Linked DNA regions of Homo sapiens: all the other regions are linked to region 4. Evidence: promoter capture Hi-C in human tissues and cell types (Jung and others, 2019). All regions are on one chromosome and are shown on one strand. Each heading gives the region's core, a stretch centred on a gene start or on the middle of the fragment in contact. The rest is flanking DNA. Distances are from core to core; before and after follow the strand shown.

The links. Contacts are between HindIII fragments. The study calls those that stand out against the background at their distance.
Region 1: a contact is called between a fragment that was not itself captured here and the fragment with the promoter of FICD in region 4, in 2 of the 25 tissues and cell types used here (H1 embryonic stem cells and aorta).
Region 2: a contact is called between a fragment that was not itself captured here and the fragment with the promoter of FICD in region 4, in 1 of the 25 tissues and cell types used here (dorsolateral prefrontal cortex).
Region 3: a contact is called between a fragment that was not itself captured here and the fragment with the promoter of FICD in region 4, in 2 of the 25 tissues and cell types used here (mesendoderm cells and thymus).
Region 5: a contact is called between a fragment that was not itself captured here and the fragment with the promoter of FICD in region 4, in 1 of the 25 tissues and cell types used here (H1 embryonic stem cells).
Region 6: a fragment that was not itself captured here is called in contact with the fragment with the promoter of FICD in region 4 in 3 of the 25 tissues and cell types used here (H1 embryonic stem cells, dorsolateral prefrontal cortex and lymphoblastoid cells).

Annotation. Positions count from the first base shown.
Region 1 is chr12:108,026,183-108,028,895 of GRCh38, forward strand. No RefSeq gene overlaps it. Among named protein-coding and RNA genes, the nearest start is that of WSCD2, 100 kb to the right of the region's middle. The HindIII fragment of the contact is 5,655 bases long and covers 1-2,713 here.
Region 2 is chr12:108,183,767-108,186,466 of GRCh38, forward strand. All of the region lies in intron 1 of WSCD2 (WSC domain containing 2), which reads left to right. LOC105369965 (a long non-coding RNA gene) reads right to left here. Exons shown (of 3, transcript XR_001749312.2): 2 at 1,005-1,148; 3 at 803-892. Among named protein-coding and RNA genes, the nearest start is that of WSCD2, 56 kb to the left of the region's middle. The HindIII fragment of the contact is 8,455 bases long and covers 1-2,700 here.
Region 3 is chr12:108,199,954-108,202,653 of GRCh38, forward strand. All of the region lies in intron 2 of WSCD2 (WSC domain containing 2), which reads left to right. All of the region lies in intron 2 of LOC124903077 (a long non-coding RNA gene), which reads right to left. Among named protein-coding and RNA genes, the nearest start is that of WSCD2, 72 kb to the left of the region's middle. The HindIII fragment of the contact is 3,550 bases long and covers 1-2,700 here.
Region 4 is chr12:108,513,933-108,516,632 of GRCh38, forward strand. FICD (FIC domain protein adenylyltransferase) reads left to right here and starts at 1,345. Exons shown (of 3, transcript NM_007076.3): 1 at 1,345-1,429. RefSeq lists an enhancer at 817-876. The HindIII fragment of the contact is 17,239 bases long and covers 1-2,700 here.
Region 5 is chr12:108,162,255-108,164,954 of GRCh38, forward strand. All of the region lies in intron 1 of WSCD2 (WSC domain containing 2), which reads left to right. Among named protein-coding and RNA genes, the nearest start is that of WSCD2, 34 kb to the left of the region's middle. The HindIII fragment of the contact is 8,834 bases long and covers 1-2,700 here.
Region 6 is chr12:108,140,182-108,142,881 of GRCh38, forward strand. The region is part of intron 1 of WSCD2 (WSC domain containing 2); the gene reads left to right. Among named protein-coding and RNA genes, the nearest start is that of WSCD2, 12 kb to the left of the region's middle. The HindIII fragment of the contact is 3,933 bases long and covers 1-2,700 here.

The DNA of each region.
Region 1 (2,713 bases), core at 24-2,523, 490 kb before region 4:
GATGTGTTCCTGCTGGAAACTTCCCAGCCCTCTTCTCCTGGAGTGCAAACCCCTCTTCCCTGGGGTGAGCCCATTTTAAGCAGCTTGGCTTCCTCTTGCCAGCCACAAATGTGGGCATGAAGCCACGTGTAGTTAATCAGAATATCTCCTTCTTCAGGCTACAGTGATTGGGTCAATGGTGCAATCATGAACCAAGCCAGCAATCAGAGCTCTCTCTAGGATTTTTCTACAGAAGCTCTTAGAAAAGATGATTCTCCTACTGACGTGTCTTTTCAGGACCATGTGACTCCACGGTTGCCAATGGCTATGTTTTCCATTACATCATGCGAGCCAAACACAGAAGAAAGGTCAAGAGACAGAGTTCCTTGACACAGTCTAATTTGAACTCCTGGATCCAGCTATATCTGAATCCCAAACTTACTTTGAGATTTCCTATGTCATGAACCAGTATATTCTAATTTTTGTGGAAGCTAGTTTGTGTTGGGTCTCTATCATTTGCGACTCAAAAGCATTCTAATACAGGTCCAATATGCAAGGGGTTAAAGCATTTTGTGTGGTTTCTCTGACCCGTAATCTCAGTCTCCATCTACCTAGTGGCCAGAGTTCAATTCAGTTTAATTTAATTTTGTTCCATTAAATTCCATTTGATTCCATTGACTCTAGTCAATTAGATTCAGTTCAATTCAATTCATTTAATTTGTTTTGAGCACCTACTGTATACTAGGAATGCAGAGATGAAAAAGTGTCCACCTTTACTCTTCAGGAGTTTAAGTTGATTTATAAATAGTTGCTGACCAATGTGATAAATGTTCTTATGTGCCAAGTGCAGTAGGACCAGAGAGAAAAAATGAACTTACACAATTCTGATTTTTAAAAATTTATTTATTTATTTATTTATTTATTTATTTATTTATTACTGTAATAGGAGCCAGTGTGGTTTTATACTCAAGAGCAAGGGAATTGGGACTGGGTAGATTCACCTTCTACTGTTTTTAGCTGGGTGACTTTCAGTGAAGAGGCTTCACCTATCTGAGCCTTACTTTCCTCATTTGCATAATGGGGATGATAATAGAATCTATGCAGTCTTGTGAAAAGTCAGTGGAAGAATGAACAAGTCAAATGCCTGGCACATAGCAAGTACTCAATAAATGATCGTCACCTCCACTTGCTGCTCTGCCCATCGGGACTGGTGGTGGCAGAGAGCAGTGGGGGTTAGTGACAGAACTCTCTCTACACTGCCGTTGACACACAGCCGTAAGACCTTGCATACTTCTTAGCACATAAAAGGTGCCTAAAACAAATTTAATAAGCATGTGTTGAATGAAAAGTCATGAGTTGTGGGTGGAATGGAAGAATTGGGAGCAGACAGAGGTCCAAGCCCTCAGCAGGGGAATGAGTGTTAATGTTAGTGAATTTCTTCTTATGGGGGCGGTTAGGGGTGCAGTTTGCCTGGAACCATTTGCTGGAGGGATTGGCTTGGAGAGGCACAGTGGGCAAAGCCCTTGACCTAACATTCAGAAAATGTGAATCTACATCAACAAATGCAGGCAGGTGATGGAGATTCTAGGAGGGGTGTCTAAATCCACTGAGGAGGGTCACTCAGTCCTTCCTCAGAGCTCAGAAAGCCTCTGGTTACTCAGCCTCCTCCTTGGGAGAAGTGACAAGTAGCAGAGGTCAATAACTCAGCACAGCAGCCTCACTTTACAAAAGGGGAAACTGAGGCATGGAGGAACTCATCCATGGTCATCCATCAGGTTAATGACAGAGCCAGGCAGGGACCCATTTGTCCTGCTACTCAGCTGGGTGCGTTCCACCCCACCCTCACCCCAGAGATTTTCATGAGAGCTCATTTTATTCGCACTAGACCTAGAGGGATACGGAGGCAGAGGTGGGGTGGGGCAGTGGGACAGCTTGAGTGAGTCCTATACTCTCCGACAGGTCTTTCTTCTCCCCACCAGCATTTCCTTACTTTTTTAACAAGCTTTTCTTCATGTTTCTTGGCCGCACAAATGTCTTCTTTTGAGAAGAGTCTCTTCATATCCTTTGCCCACTTTTTCATGGGGTTGTTTGTTTTTTTCTTGTAAATTTCTTTAAGTTCTTGTAGATTCTGAATATTAGACCTTTGTCAAATGGGTAGATTGCAAATATTTACTCCCATTCTGTAGGTTGCCTGTTCACTCTGATGATCGCTTTTTTTGGTTTTTTTTTTTTTTTTTTTTTTTTTTTTTGCTGTGCAGAAGCTCTTTAGTTTGATTAGATGCCATTTGTCAATTTTGGCTTTTGTTGCCTTTGCTTTTGGTATTTTAGTCATTACGTCTTTGTCCATGCCTATGTCCTGAATGGTATTGCCTAGGTTTTCTTCTAGGGTTTTTATGATTTTGGGTTTTACATTTAAGTCTTTAATCCATCTTGAGTTAATTTTTGTATAAGGTGTAAGGAAGGGGTCTAGTTTCTGTTTTCTGCATATGGCTAGCCAGTTTTCCCAGCACCATTTATTAAATAGGGAATCCTTTCCTCATCGCTTGTTTTTGTCAGGTTTATCGGAGATCAGATGGTTGTAGATGTCCAGCACTTATTGTAACAAGTCTTGCCTTCTCCAATTCAGCTCCTATACCAAGGGACAAACATTCAAGTTTGTACAGGGGCAATTCCTATAGAAAATGAGAGAGCCAGGCACAATAGTAGGGAATGGTGGGGACTGTGTCTAACTGGA
Region 2 (2,700 bases), core at 95-2,594, 330 kb before region 4:
TCACATAGAGGTTAGGATTAAGGGTCTGGAGTCAGACAGGCCTGGGTTGAGTCTTGTTCTGCCACTCACCAGCTCTGCCCTTTGGCAAGTTGACTGACCTCTCCAGGCCTTGGTTGTCTCATCTGTAAAGTGAGATTAAACCCAACCTACCAAGCAGAGCCCCTGGGGAGAGGCAATGGCACAGGGTACATGGAAGGGCCTGGCACATAGTAATTGTGCAACAAAAGGTGTTTATCCATTTTTCTTCTTTCTCAGGAGGGTGCCAAGGCTGAAGGCTGGGATGCAGGAAAACTGGGTCTGGGTAGAGTCACCCTCCACCTCCCCTTTAGGCCTCAGTTACCCCATATGTCTGTGAGGAAGCTGACCTGGAGGTTATGAACAGTCCTCCCTCCTGCTTTGATGGCTGTGAGCCCACCTCTCAGTCCTGCTCAGAGCTGGCAGTAGGTGCTGGCAACCCCTCCAAGGGCACAAGGTTCTCCGGGACAGGGGAAGAGAATTTGAACCTGTAGAGGTGGGCTGGGGAGCACAGAGACCACCTCTCCACCACCACCCCCCAAACACACACACACTGCCTTGGACAGAAAGATTGGGCTTGGGTGATTTGGGGGTGGGGATGGCAGTTATTTTTCACTCCTGGTGGAAAGTTCCTCTTTGGGGAAGGGTTGCTAATAGGTGCTGTCACCGTTCCTAAATTAGAGTTCAATCCACCGTGGTCAGTGTGGAACCAGCAAATGGCAATTTGCTCGTGTTTGCGGCTGGGAGCAATGGGGGCTGCCAGGGAGCAGCGTGTGCTCTGGGAAGAAACCTGCAGGGCAGGAACCAGCTCAGCCCTGGCCTGGCTGTGTGACTCTGGACCACTCCTCCAGCCTCTCTGAGCCCCCGGGTTCCTCATCTGTAAAACATCAGACTTGAACTAGCTGGTGTCTAAGGGCCCTTTGAACTCTAGGATTCTATGGTATCATAATCATAATCTTGGTAATAGCTAAAAAGTATTGAGCACTTACTTGGGTCCAGGTCTATGCGAGACATTTTATATGGACAGAGGTTATTTCATTCAAGTTTCTCCAAGCCTCAGTTTCCCCTTATGTAAAGGAAGGCTGTTTCGCTAGGTGTTGGATCTCCAGGCTTTCTTGTAGCTCTGTCACTTGCTGTAAGGAAGAAGCTGAGTGACCTGAGAGTGGCCTTTGAGCTCTGAAGAGGGACAGGGTGAACTCCTTCAGTGGTCCTAAGCCCCTTCCCCCATAAACTCTGTATCAGTTTCCATTGCTGATGAAAATTAAGGGTCAGCAAATACTTTCTGTAAAAGGCTAGAAGGTAAATATTTTAGGCTTTGAGGGCCACATTTCCCTGAGCCCCAGCCAGAAAGAAATTCTAAATCCTCCCACAAGCCTTGCCAAGCACCTGGACCTTGGACCTTTCTAAGCTCCAGCAATCAACAAGCATTTTTCAGCTCAGCCTCTGAGAAGTGGTCACATCCCACTGGGACAGGAATGTCCTCAATGTATTATTTAGGAAATGGGCTCCGGTCACACTGCAGTTCAAGAACAGTCCTGAGCAGAAACTCTAGGCCCTTGTGGGATGGACCCCCACTGACCTTTTTCCACCTCCCAGTCTCTGCATGGTGTCTCCTGCTGCCTGGGACATTCTTGCCCCAGATCCTCCCATGACTGTCTCCTTGTCATTTTGCAGATCTCAGCTCAAATGCCTTCTGAGAGGGGCCTTTGGGAACCACCCTACCACACACAGCTTCCTCCTATTCTCCATGCTAGGACTTTCCAATTATTTCAGTGACCCCACAGTGAGAAATGTATTTGACATTGTGATGCGCACACACAACCGAGGCAAAGGTTCACAAGATAACATTTCTCCTTACTGTATGTGAGTCAATGATAGCTTACTCTACGCCATTCCCTTTCATCCTATCCTAGTCCATCCTATCTCCTCCTTCCTGCCTTCCTCCCTGTTCTCTGCCATTCCCTGTAGGTCTGCCTCTTGGGTAAACACTCTGCCCAGAACCAGCAGAACCGTCCATTATCTCCCCCAGCCTATTAAGGAACTCTATGCAAATGTGCACTAATTGACCCAAGACACAGCAGCTCCTGGAGGAGAAGGATGACTCCAGATGGCTTAATGATAGGGATTTAGAAGTCCCTTCAGAAGTCCCTCTTGGGGAAGAAAGTGATCTGCACTTGGAGAAGGGCTGCCAGCTGCCTCATGGGGTGGCCAGTGGACTGGGTGACCTGCACCTTGGGTCCCTTTCATCAAACCACTGTACAAGGGAGACTGTCAGCTCACCCCTTCATCTCTCTCCAATCCCCTGACCCTTCCTGCAACATGGCCCCTTCCCCAGAGCCCACAGTTTGGATATTTCGTTGACATGTACCTCAGTGGGTCTCTGCCTTTTCAAATAAATTATTGTCCCCCCTTTTTAAATAGACTTTTAAAAAGCCATTTTAGATTCATAGCAAAATTGAGCGGCAAGTACAGAAAGTTCCCATATAACCCCAGACCCTCCTCCAACAGCCTCCCCCTCCATCAACATCCCGCACCAGAGTGGTCCCTTTGTTACAGTTGATGAACCTACACTGACACATCATTATCACTCAAGTCTGCAGTGTCCATTAGGGCTCACTCTTGGTGTTGTACCTTCTGTAGGTTTGGACAAATGTATAATGACATGTGTCCACCATTATAGTATCA
Region 3 (2,700 bases), core at 14-2,513, 310 kb before region 4:
TTATTTATACTGTAATTTTGCAGGAGAAAATGGAGGAATAGAGGTAATGTGAATTTCCTAAAGTCACACAGCTAATCTGGGGCAGAGCCAGGAGCTGAACCCACTTTGACTTCAAAGGTTGTGCTGCTTCTATTTCCATGAGATTACAGAGAGGCTTGGGCTGGGTGTGAAGGTGGCCATGGGAAGATTTAGTCTGCATTTTTTTGGAAGGATAGCAGGAGCACCCACTTCCCATCTCCTCCAGCTGGAGATGCAATGGCTGCAGGTTACTGAGGTGCTCTGTGTCAGGGACTATTTGTCCATATTTTCCTTTCAGCTTCATATCAGGTAAAAATATTGAGTGCCATTTCACGGATGAAGAAACAGGCTCAGAGAGGTTCAATTATTTGCCCAACATCACACAGATGCCAAGAGGCAGAGCTGACTCCAGCCCGATTTGATCAGAGTCCAAAGCCCTTATTCTTAACCACTGGACTTATACTATTTCTTTCTTAAAATATAAGATCTCTAACTCCATTCATTCGTTCATTTATTCTTTCATTCATTCATTCATTCTGTATTTATCAAACACCTACTACATGCCCAGATCTTTGCTGGAAGGTGGAGATACAGGAATGATTCAAGCACAGGTTGTGAATATTCCTCAGAGGAAGAAGCTGTGCTTTTCCCCATTATAACACCTTTTCATTTTATTAAAAGTTCTTCTACAATAAGCCAAAATTATTTCTAATTTGAAAAAATAATGGACAATACTAAGAAAATTTAGAAAAGTTTTGGGGGACCCCAAAGGAGGGACCCCATTCAGTCATGGGGTATCACAACTGGCTTTCTGGGAAAGCATATAGGTGAGCTTAGTATGTAGGATCCTTATGCCTTGACCAAAGTGAGTGGTGCATCCCTTCTGCCCTGGGGAAGCCTAGATATGAGCAGGAAATTCCATCGCCGGTACAAGGAAACCCAGGCAGCACTGGGTGGTCTTCTGGAGGGACCACCTTCCAGTGTTTCAGAGAATCCCCAGAAGGAGAAAAAGTATTTCTTGTGTCTTCCTTCTGTGCCAGACCCTGTGATAGGCTCAATGCATCAAATTAATGTTACTTAGGTCACCCTTAACAATATCTTTGTATTAGCTTTCTCAGGCTGCTATAACAAAGTATCACACACTGGGTGGCTTGAACAACAGATATCTATTCTCTCACAGTTCTGGAGGCCAGAAATCTGAAGTCAGGGTGTTGGCAGGGCCATGCACTCTCAAAGGCTCAAAGGGAGACTCTGTTCCATGCCTTTCTCCTGGTTTCCAGTGTTCCCAGCCATCCTCAGCAATCCCTTGCTTGCAGCCACATTACTCCAATCTCTGCTTCCATTTTCACATGACCATCTCCTTTGCGTCTGTGTCTTCATATAGCCATCTTGTTATAAGGACACCAGTCATACTGGATTGGGACCCAGCCTACTCCAGTTTAGCCTCATAACAAAATTCCATCTGCCATGACCCTATTTCCAAATAAGGCCACATTCTAAGGAATTGGAAGTCAAGACTTCAACATGTCATTTTGTTGGGGTGTGGGTGGGGGGCGGGACAGGGCACACAATTCAGCCTGACAACCCTAGTTGAATTTTTGCTCCCACTTTTCAGGTGGAGAACTGCACCCCGAAGAGCTTGAGTAATATTTGAGGCTACTGCAGCATCATGTGTGGGATTTGAACCCAGATCTGGTTAGATCTGGTTGACTCCAGTACAGCATGAGGCCTCCTATTCGTGAATCTGTTCACAAACTATAAATCAGAGGCATACAAATTAGTTCATGTTTAGCTACCCTTTTAACAAATCACCTTCATTGAAGAGAGCAAAATTCCATGAAAAGATTAATTGTAGCAAAAGAAAAAAGTAAAGGAGGAAAAAAAACTGCCACCAGGAGGGTTCTTTTCAGATGCTGGTTTCTCTACTGGAGATAAATAGCCCAGCTGGGGTGACTTTGCCATTTCAGCAGTCTTCAGACCGCTGTGGAGATGAGCTGATAGATTGTGTGAACTTGGCCATTAATCCACCCTCAAGTGGCCTGTGATTTTGTCCCTGTTTTACATATCTGACCTCCTGTCTCCGAGAGATTCTGCTACCACAGCAGGATTTGAAGGTGGAGCCCTGAGGAACGGCTGAAGAGGATTTTAGCGGGCTGGCAGTAACCACGCTAATGAGCTCAGAAGGGTGAAACAACTCTGAGGACAGGGACCATGGTTGTATTGGTCGCAGCCTGCACCAAAGGTCCGTGGGAAAGGGGTCACCAGATCTTTCCCAAGACAGGAAGGAAACTGACTCAATATTGATATCCTGATCCATGGAGCTCAGTCCATTAATCAGGCCGTGATGCATAACATGCCTGTGTTTTCCAAAAGCATTAATAAAGGACCATGTATCTTCCTCTCCCTCCTGTTGACAGATAAGGAAACAGAGGGTCATTCGTTCATTCAACAAGTCTTTGAGCACCTGTTGTGTGGGACATCTCAGCCTGATGCCTGGTCTGGTGGGAGGGTGAGGAAGGGGACAGAGCACCATTTAAAAGCCCAGGCTTATAAAAAAAGAATAAGATCATGTTTCTTGCAGGAACATGGATGGATCTGAAGGCCATTATTCTTAGCAAACTAATGCAGGAACAGAAAACCAAATACTGCACGTTCTCACTTATAAGTGGGAGCTGAGTGATG
Region 4 (2,700 bases), core at 95-2,594:
CTGGGGCACCTCCCTAGATGTTTAATTTCAGTATTTGTGGATTAAGATGGAGGTTTCCATTCTCTGCTTCAAGGAAAAAATTTCTCTCTGGGAAGCCAAAAGAACTAGCCAGGTCCTTCTGGAGAGGATACAAATTAAAAAGTCAGGGAGAACCGAGGGGGTGGCTTGCGCCTGTAATCTTAGCGCTTTGGGAAGCCGAGATGGAGGGAGAGCTTAAGGTCAAGAGTTCGAGACCAGCCCGGGCGACATAGTGAGACCCGGTCTCTAAAGAAAATAAAAAATCAGAAATAGGTCGGGCGCGATGGCTCACGCCTGTAATCCCAGCACTTTGGGAGGCCGAGGCAGGCGAATCTTCTGAGGTCAGGAGTTCGAGACCAGCCTGGCCAACGTGGTGAAACCCCATCTCTACTAAAAATACACAAATTAGGCGGGCGTGGTGATGCGCGCCTGTAATCCCAGCTACTCGGGAGGCTGAGGCAGGAGAATCGCTTCAACCTGGGAGGCGGAGGTTGCAGTGGGCCAAGATCGTGCCACTTCCCTCCAGCCTGGGCAACAGAGTGCGATTCCGTCTCAAAAAAAAAGAAAGAAAGCAAGACAGAGAGAGAGAAAAAAAAAGAAAGAAAGAAAGAAAAGAAAAGAAAAGAAAATTCGCCGGGCATGGTGGCATGCACCTGTAGTCCCAGCTACTCGGGAGGCTGAGATGGGAGGATTGCTTGAGCCCAGGAGGTGGAGGCTGCAGTGAGCTGCAATTGCTCCACCGCACTCCAGCCTGGGCGACACAACGAGACCCTGTATTTTATAAGAAAAAAAAAAGTTGTTTAAGTCAGGGAGGAAAAGACACAGAGAGGAAAAGAGTAAAGAAGAAGAAGGCGGCAAACTCAGCAGCATGGGGTGGAGGCTAAGAACAGGGGCTGCGCAGTCAAGCAGGCTAACCGGGTGAAGGGGTGAAAAGCATCAGCATCTTCATTTCACAACCGGGAAAAATGAGGCACACGACAGCGGCTCCGGGACGAAGAGACCCGAGGAAAAGACCGCCGTGGAACTTCCAGTTTCCGGGCCCGCCACCTAGTGTGCCCCAAATCCGCACGCCCATCGGGTTTCCAGCACCTGCTCCTCCTGCCTGTGGCCTAGGCCCCGCCCCTCCCGCTGCTTATTGGCTGCTACGTGAACGAGACAAACGCAAGCAACAACCAATGGGAGTGGCCCACGGCGCGTCTTTCCCGGGGAAGCCGACGCGGACGCGGGAACCCGGAAATGCGAGGGAAGGACAAGTGGGGAAAGCCAATCCGCCGCGACGAGGGCTGCGGGCGGTTCAATGGCAAGTCGCCGGGGGCGGGGCCAGAGGCCGGCGGAGAAGGAGGACCCGGGAGCCGGCGGCCCGGAGCTGGGAGCGCGGGGAAGGCGGTTGGGGTTCTGACAGCTGCGCGCGGTGAGAAGGGGAAAAGCCCTAGGGGCTCGAGAGGATGAAGCCGGGAAGGGTGCGACGGGGCCGCGAGCCCTGGGCGGGGTTCGGGAAGGGAGGCTCTGCAGTCTTGGAGGGGACTCAGACCGGTCCCCTCCCCTCTCCGGGCCTCAGTTCTCCCTTTCTAGGGAAGTGTGGGGGAGAGATTCGCGCCTCCCAGAACGCACTCCTTCCCTGCACACACCCCTGGCACCGGCGAACTGCCCCCTTTCCTGTACCGCCCCGCCCAGGAGCCTGTCCCCTCGGGAAGCCCGCCCAGACCCCTGGACCCGCGCAGCACTCCAGGCGCACCCCTATTAAAGCGCACCCCAAGCCATTTCACATGTTCTGTGGCAATGGGCCAGGATCCCCATGAGACTCAGAACCCCGTGATCCATCAGTCATTCCCGGGTCAGGACCAGCCCAGAGCAGGTGCACAGGCCCTGCTTAGTAATAAGGTAGAAATCGAGACCTGGGGACCGGGTTCAGAGGCCCTGGGGTTTCCTTCCGGATGCCTCTGTTTACCTCCTGTGGGCCTTCTGGAATTTAACTTATGCTCTCTGTGTCTTGGTTTCCCTTGTCTGTAAAATGGAGCTAGCGGTAGCTCTTCCTTCATAGGGTGGCATGAGGGTGAAACGAGGCAATGCGTGGCCAGTACACTGCTCAGCACCTAGGACACCATAGTTGCTTAATAAGTGCTTATTGTTAGCATAGTGTTTGCATGCCTGGCCCCACCTCCACTCCCACTGCCAGCCCCAAGCACATACAAGCCATGTTGTCACTGAGGCCAAGCACTGTGGCCCACAGCCTGAGTTCCTTTCGAGATGCTCGAACTGCTCATCTTCTTGATGGGGTCCCTTCTGGACAGGCCAGAAATGGAAGGCCAGAGAGGGGAAGGGCACTGTGGGAGCTGTGGCTGAATATCAGGGTGAGGGCAATAAATGAGGCCACCCAACAATTGTGCTTATCAAAGATTGGGCGTCAGAACTGCTGTGGCTGATCTGCCTGGGTGTCTGTCAGTCATTTATGTCCCAAATGTTTGACATATGTCCACAAATCCAGTGTTTGTGGTCAGAAGCCACAGGGATATATGGGAAGGGGGGACACTTTAGAGCCGTGGGGTTCCTGAGTTCAAGTCCTAAGGCTGTCACTTGCTCCCGGCGAGACTTTCGGCAAGGGACTTCACCTCTCTGAACCTCAGTTCCCTCACCTGGAGAAGGGTGAAAACATCAGCTCAAGTCGTTGAAGATTGCAGGAGG
Region 5 (2,700 bases), core at 116-2,615, 350 kb before region 4:
ATCTTCCTTGCAGGCTCACATCTCTCCGGAAGCTCTTGGAATCCTGCCTGTTCATAGGGAGGAGTCACCAAGCCCCCTTCAGACTCACGGGTGGAATAATCAAACACATATGCCTTGGAAAATGGGCTGGGGGATCCCCAGCCCCCCAACCCATTTCACACTCAGATGCAAGCAACACCCTCAGTCCCCAGGGCTCCCAGAGCTTTCTCATTCCATTTGTATCAATGTGCCCCACACATGTATGAGCCAAGTTCTACTTCTGGGGGAAAGAAAAAAATCTATTTCTTTCTGCATCTTGGCATCTATTTTTCCCAAAGTGCCAAGGAAATTCCATCTCTGATAAATGACAGGCAGCCACCAGAAAAGCTTGGATGTTTATTCCCTCCTGGGGAGAGGAACAGGGCTCAGACCCTCTTCTGAGCATCCTGGAGAATGCATTTCCTCCATTTTCTGGAGGGGCTGGGAGTAAGGCCTTCTCTTTTCTCTCTCCAAATGACCTCTGCTCAGACCTGGAGGCCCTTCCAGAACAGTTTCTGATGGATTCTGGAGTCTGACAGACCTGGTTAGCAAAGTACCCTGGACTTGGTAAATGGCTGTTTCCATCAATATCATTCATTCATAAGATATCACTACATGCACAGGCTGTGTGTTGAGCCTGCATCTTGTGCCAGCCTCTGTGTTAACTGCCTTAAACATCACTTCACTTACTCCTCACAAAAACCTGGAGGAAGTGGAGTGATGCCTCATTGTATAGGCAGGAAAACTGGGGCTTCAAGAGAGGCTGAATCGTATTCCTATGGACATGAAGCTAATAAGTGGTAGGTCATCAGCTAAGTGATACCACTAATAAGTAGTATTTGAATCCAGATGGGTCTGATCTGATTCCAAGTCTGAGCTCGTAAAAAGTCTATACCATCCTCCTGGCTAGCATGGTGAAATCCCGTCTCTACTAAAAATACAAAAAATTAGCTGGGCGTGGTGGCGGGCACCTGTAGTCCCAGCTTCTTGGGAGGCTGAGGCTGGAGAATGGCATGAACCTGGGAGGCGGAGCTTGCAGTGAGCAGAGATTGCACCACTGCACTCCAGCCTGGGTGACAGAGCAAGACTTTGTCTCAAAAAAAATAAAAATTAAAATTAAAAAAGAAAGAAAAAGTCTATACCATTCTTCTTTCTAAGTGTGGTGGGTTGAATAATCATCCTCTGCCCCACCAAACCTGTCCACGTTCAAATCCCTGGAACCTGCAAATATGGTACCTTAAGCATGGTAAGAGGTACTTGGCAGACGTAAATGAGTTAAGAATCTTGAGATGGGATATTATCCTGGATTCTCCAAGTGGTCCCACTGTCATCGCAAGGATCTTCATAAGAGGGAGGCAGGGAAGATCCGAGTCAGTAGCAGGAGATGCGATGATAGAAGACGTTGGAGTGATGGAATGCAGGCAGGAAGGGGAGGGGCCAGGAGCCAAGGCATGCAGGCAGCTTCTAGAAGCTGAAAAAGCAAGGAAGCAGATTCTCCCTGAAGCCTCCAGCAGGAACCAGCCCTGCAGACATCTTGATTTTACACTTCTGATTTTCAGAACTGAATAGAATGAACTTATGTTTTTTTAAGCTAGTAAGTTTGTGGTCATATGTTACTGCAGCCACAGGAAACTAATATACTAAGCATGGATAAAAAAAATTAAGGAAAGATACTAAAAGAATAAGTGAATGCCTGGAAAGGTAGTGAATAAATGAGTGAAACATAGTGGCATCAGTGATGGCTTGCCTTTGACATCCCAGTGGGTCACTGTCTTCTCTACAGCCCAGGACCCATGACAGAGTGGTTGGCATTACCACTAGACCTGTAGCCCTTCACTTATTTATACTGTTGTTTAATCTTAAATCCTTTTTTTTTTTTTTTTTTTTTTTCAGAGAGGGGGATGTTTGAAAACGTCCTACAATGGTATACCTTACATACTGTAAAGTACAAAATCAATAAATTTTTACAAACTTATAGAGCCATGGAACCATTGCCAAGGTCAAGATACAGACCATTCTTATCACTCCAGAGAGGTTTCTTTGCATTTCTTCCTAATTGATACCCCTGTCACCAGAGATTAATTTGCCTGTCCTTGAACTTCATATGAATGGGATCTTGTACTGTCTTTTCTTTTGTGCCTGGCTTCCTTTGCTTGATGTTATTTTTATAAATCCGTGAGATTTATTCACGATGTCACATATATCAGCGGTTTCTTTCTTGTTCATTCAATTTTTAATCCTTTCTCCTTTTGAAGGACACATGGCTGATTTTCTGCAGTTTGGGACCCTAATGAACAGAGGTGCTAGGGACATTCTTGTACAAATCTTGTGGGAGATTTAAGCACTCATTTCTTGTAGGTGTATACCCAGGAGTGGAATTGCAGGGTCCTAGGTATGTGAATGTTTCGCTTCAGTGGACAACACCAGTCTCCAGCCTGAATCTAACTTGAGGAATGCCTTCCTTGCCCGCAACAGCTTTCTCTCCAACAGATCTACCCACATCTCCACATTGTGTGGGTCACAATGCTTAGGAGACAAGGAGGCCCAATAACTCCTCACATCCCAGTCCAGGAAAGCCTCATCTGACCTGATGGGTTTCAGAGATGTGATGTAGGAGAAGGTGGGGACAAAGGGGGTACCCAGTCTCCTTTTCATGTGGGCTCATTTGCTAACCAGCAAATG
Region 6 (2,700 bases), core at 64-2,563, 370 kb before region 4:
GGCCTTGGGCTGTGAGTTAACCACTCTTCGCCTCCGTTTCCTCGTTTTAAAACTGAGATACAAAACTGGAAGGGCTGAGTGAAGATTCAATGACCTAAAATGGCGCCTAGCATATGGTACAGGTTACATAAGTGCCAGTTAGTAACATAATGATTGTGATTGGGTGGCTTTTATTTCAGGTCTTGTCAGAGGTGAGCTACATCATAGAGTGGTGAGGCACCTCCTTACTGTCTATGAGCAGAGTGAAGAGGCATGGGGATTCTCTGGTCATCAGGGCCTCTCCCCATAATCCATCCTGGCATAGCTTTTACGGCAACCTGCTGCTCTGTCTGTCCGCCTGATTTTGGGCACTGGCTGATCATGAGAGGTAAACCTGTGTGTCACTCAAAAAGAACCAGGTAGTAGTAGCTGGGGGCCCACACAGCTTGTTCCTCAAGTGCTGGGGATTGAGGTGTCAGTGTCTTCTCCCCTGGACCGCCCAGATCTTCTGCCCTCACCCCTCATGATCCCCCAGCCAGGGGCCTTTCCTGCCCCCTGACCCCCTGCCAGCCCCTGCTACAGTCCTGAAGCCTTGGGCTGCTGTGATCACTGTCCCTGTGAGTGTGAACTTCAGCAGAGCAAGGCTGCCAGCTCTGGAAGGGGTCCCAGGGAGCAGCCGGCCAGCCCTCCCACCCCCTGGGCATCGTGGCAGAGCTGGGACTAGAACGTGGGCCTTTCACATCCTGATCCATGACAGGTCCTGCGGCCCCTTCGCTCCCATGCTGCTTTTCAGCGTGAGCGGATGAGTTCCCTATGGCTACGGGAAACAATGTCCATAAAGGTAGTGGCTTGAGCAAGACAATCTTTACATTCTTTTCTTTTCTTTCTTTCTTTACTTGTTTCTTTATTTTTTAGAGATGGAGTCTGTATCACCCAGGCTGGAATGCAAGTGACACGATCATAGCTCACTGCAGCCTTGAATTCCTGGGCTCAGGTGATCCTTCCACCTTAGTCTCCCAAGTAGCTGAGACTTACAGGCAAGTGCCATCACACCCAGCTAGTTTTTAAAAACTTTTTGTTCTTTTTTGTTTGTTTGTTTTTGTGATTTTTAAAAAATTTTTGAAGAGATAGAGTCTCACTATATTGCCTAGGCTGGTCCCGAACTCCTGGACTCAAGCGATGCTCCTGCCTTGGCCTCCTGAGTAGCTGGGACTACAGATGGCCACCACCATCCCCGGTTCTAAACAATACAAATTTACTATCTGCCAGTTCTGGAGGTTTGAAGTCTAAAATGGGTCAGCAGGGCTGGGTTCCTTTTGGAGGTTCGAGGGGGAGAATCCACTCTCTTACCTTTTCCAGCATTGGAGGGCTGCCCATATTCCTTGGTTCATAGCCCCAAGCCACTCTGATGTCTGCTTCCGTCATCACATCTTTGTCTCTGGCTGCGACTCTCCATCAGGACCCTGGTAATGACATTGGGCCTATTTGAGTAATCCAGGATAATCTCTCCATCCCAAAATCCTCCACTTAGTCACATCTGCAAAGTTTCTTTTACTAGGTAAATGTCTCATAGTCACAGGTTCCTGCTTTTGGGGTCGGGGAGCTGGTATATGATGAAACTGGAATGTCCTCAGGGCCTTGTGAGCCCCTCCCAGCAGTGGGAAACCTTGTAAAGAGTTTAAGTAAAGTGGAGTTGAATGATTCCATTAAACCCTGGCCAGAGCAAGAAGAAGAAAGGCCTCCAAGCTGTCCCCGTCAACTTGAGATGGGAGCCTATTGAAATCCCTGCAAAGAGCAGAGAGAACAGGGTGATTTCAGCTTCATTATGCAAAACACACAGCCTTCCAGGGAGAGGTGAGCTTTGGAGAAAAGAGTCAACAAATTAGTTTCTTAATCTGCTTTAAGTTGCTAAAATGCCCCCGTCTCCCTTCCTTTGTCACCTGATGGGCCTGTGGGCTATTTTAACTTTTATTAGAACATTTTTATTTTTTTATTAAAGGAGCTTTTCCTTTTTGAAAAACTAATCCCAGCTGTGTTTTGATAAGGTAGAATTAAAAATGGCACTGGGTAAATGCCACAGAAAGCTTTGATTTTTCTTCTTATGGCATCTGAACTGATTTAAATAACAATTATGTATTTCATTTTTATGTAGCCTCCTCTACTCCCTCCCTGGCCTCCTCAAAACACCACAGGTACCTGCAGCTCTGAACACATGCTATTTCTAAAATCTCCAACCCTCAGCTCCTGGAGGCAGAGGGACAGCCCTATAAGAGACCAAGATTTCTAACCCAGCAGCTTCAGGTGTAAGGCAGATCTCGCTCAAGTACAAGTGCTCCAGTTCACAGTTGTGTGGCCTTGGATAATTTACTTCAATCTCCTTGGCCTCTGATTCCTCATATACATGAGTAAAATAGAAATAATGATAGTGTTTGCATTCATCTGGATTCTGTTGGTTGTAGGTGACAGAAAACCCAACTTAAACATCCTTACACTCTTTTATTCTCAGGCATAAAATGAAATTTATTGGCTTATAAAACTAGCAACCTAGCTTCAGGCTTGGCTGGATCCAGGAGCTTGACATCTTACAGGTCTCTCTTTCTGGTCACCTCTCTCTTTTCCTTCCTTTCTCCTTCCTTCTCTCTCTCTCTCTCTATTTTTTTATTTCTCTTTAGAGACAAGGTCTTGCTCTGTCACCCAGGCTGGAGTGCAGTGGTGCTGTCA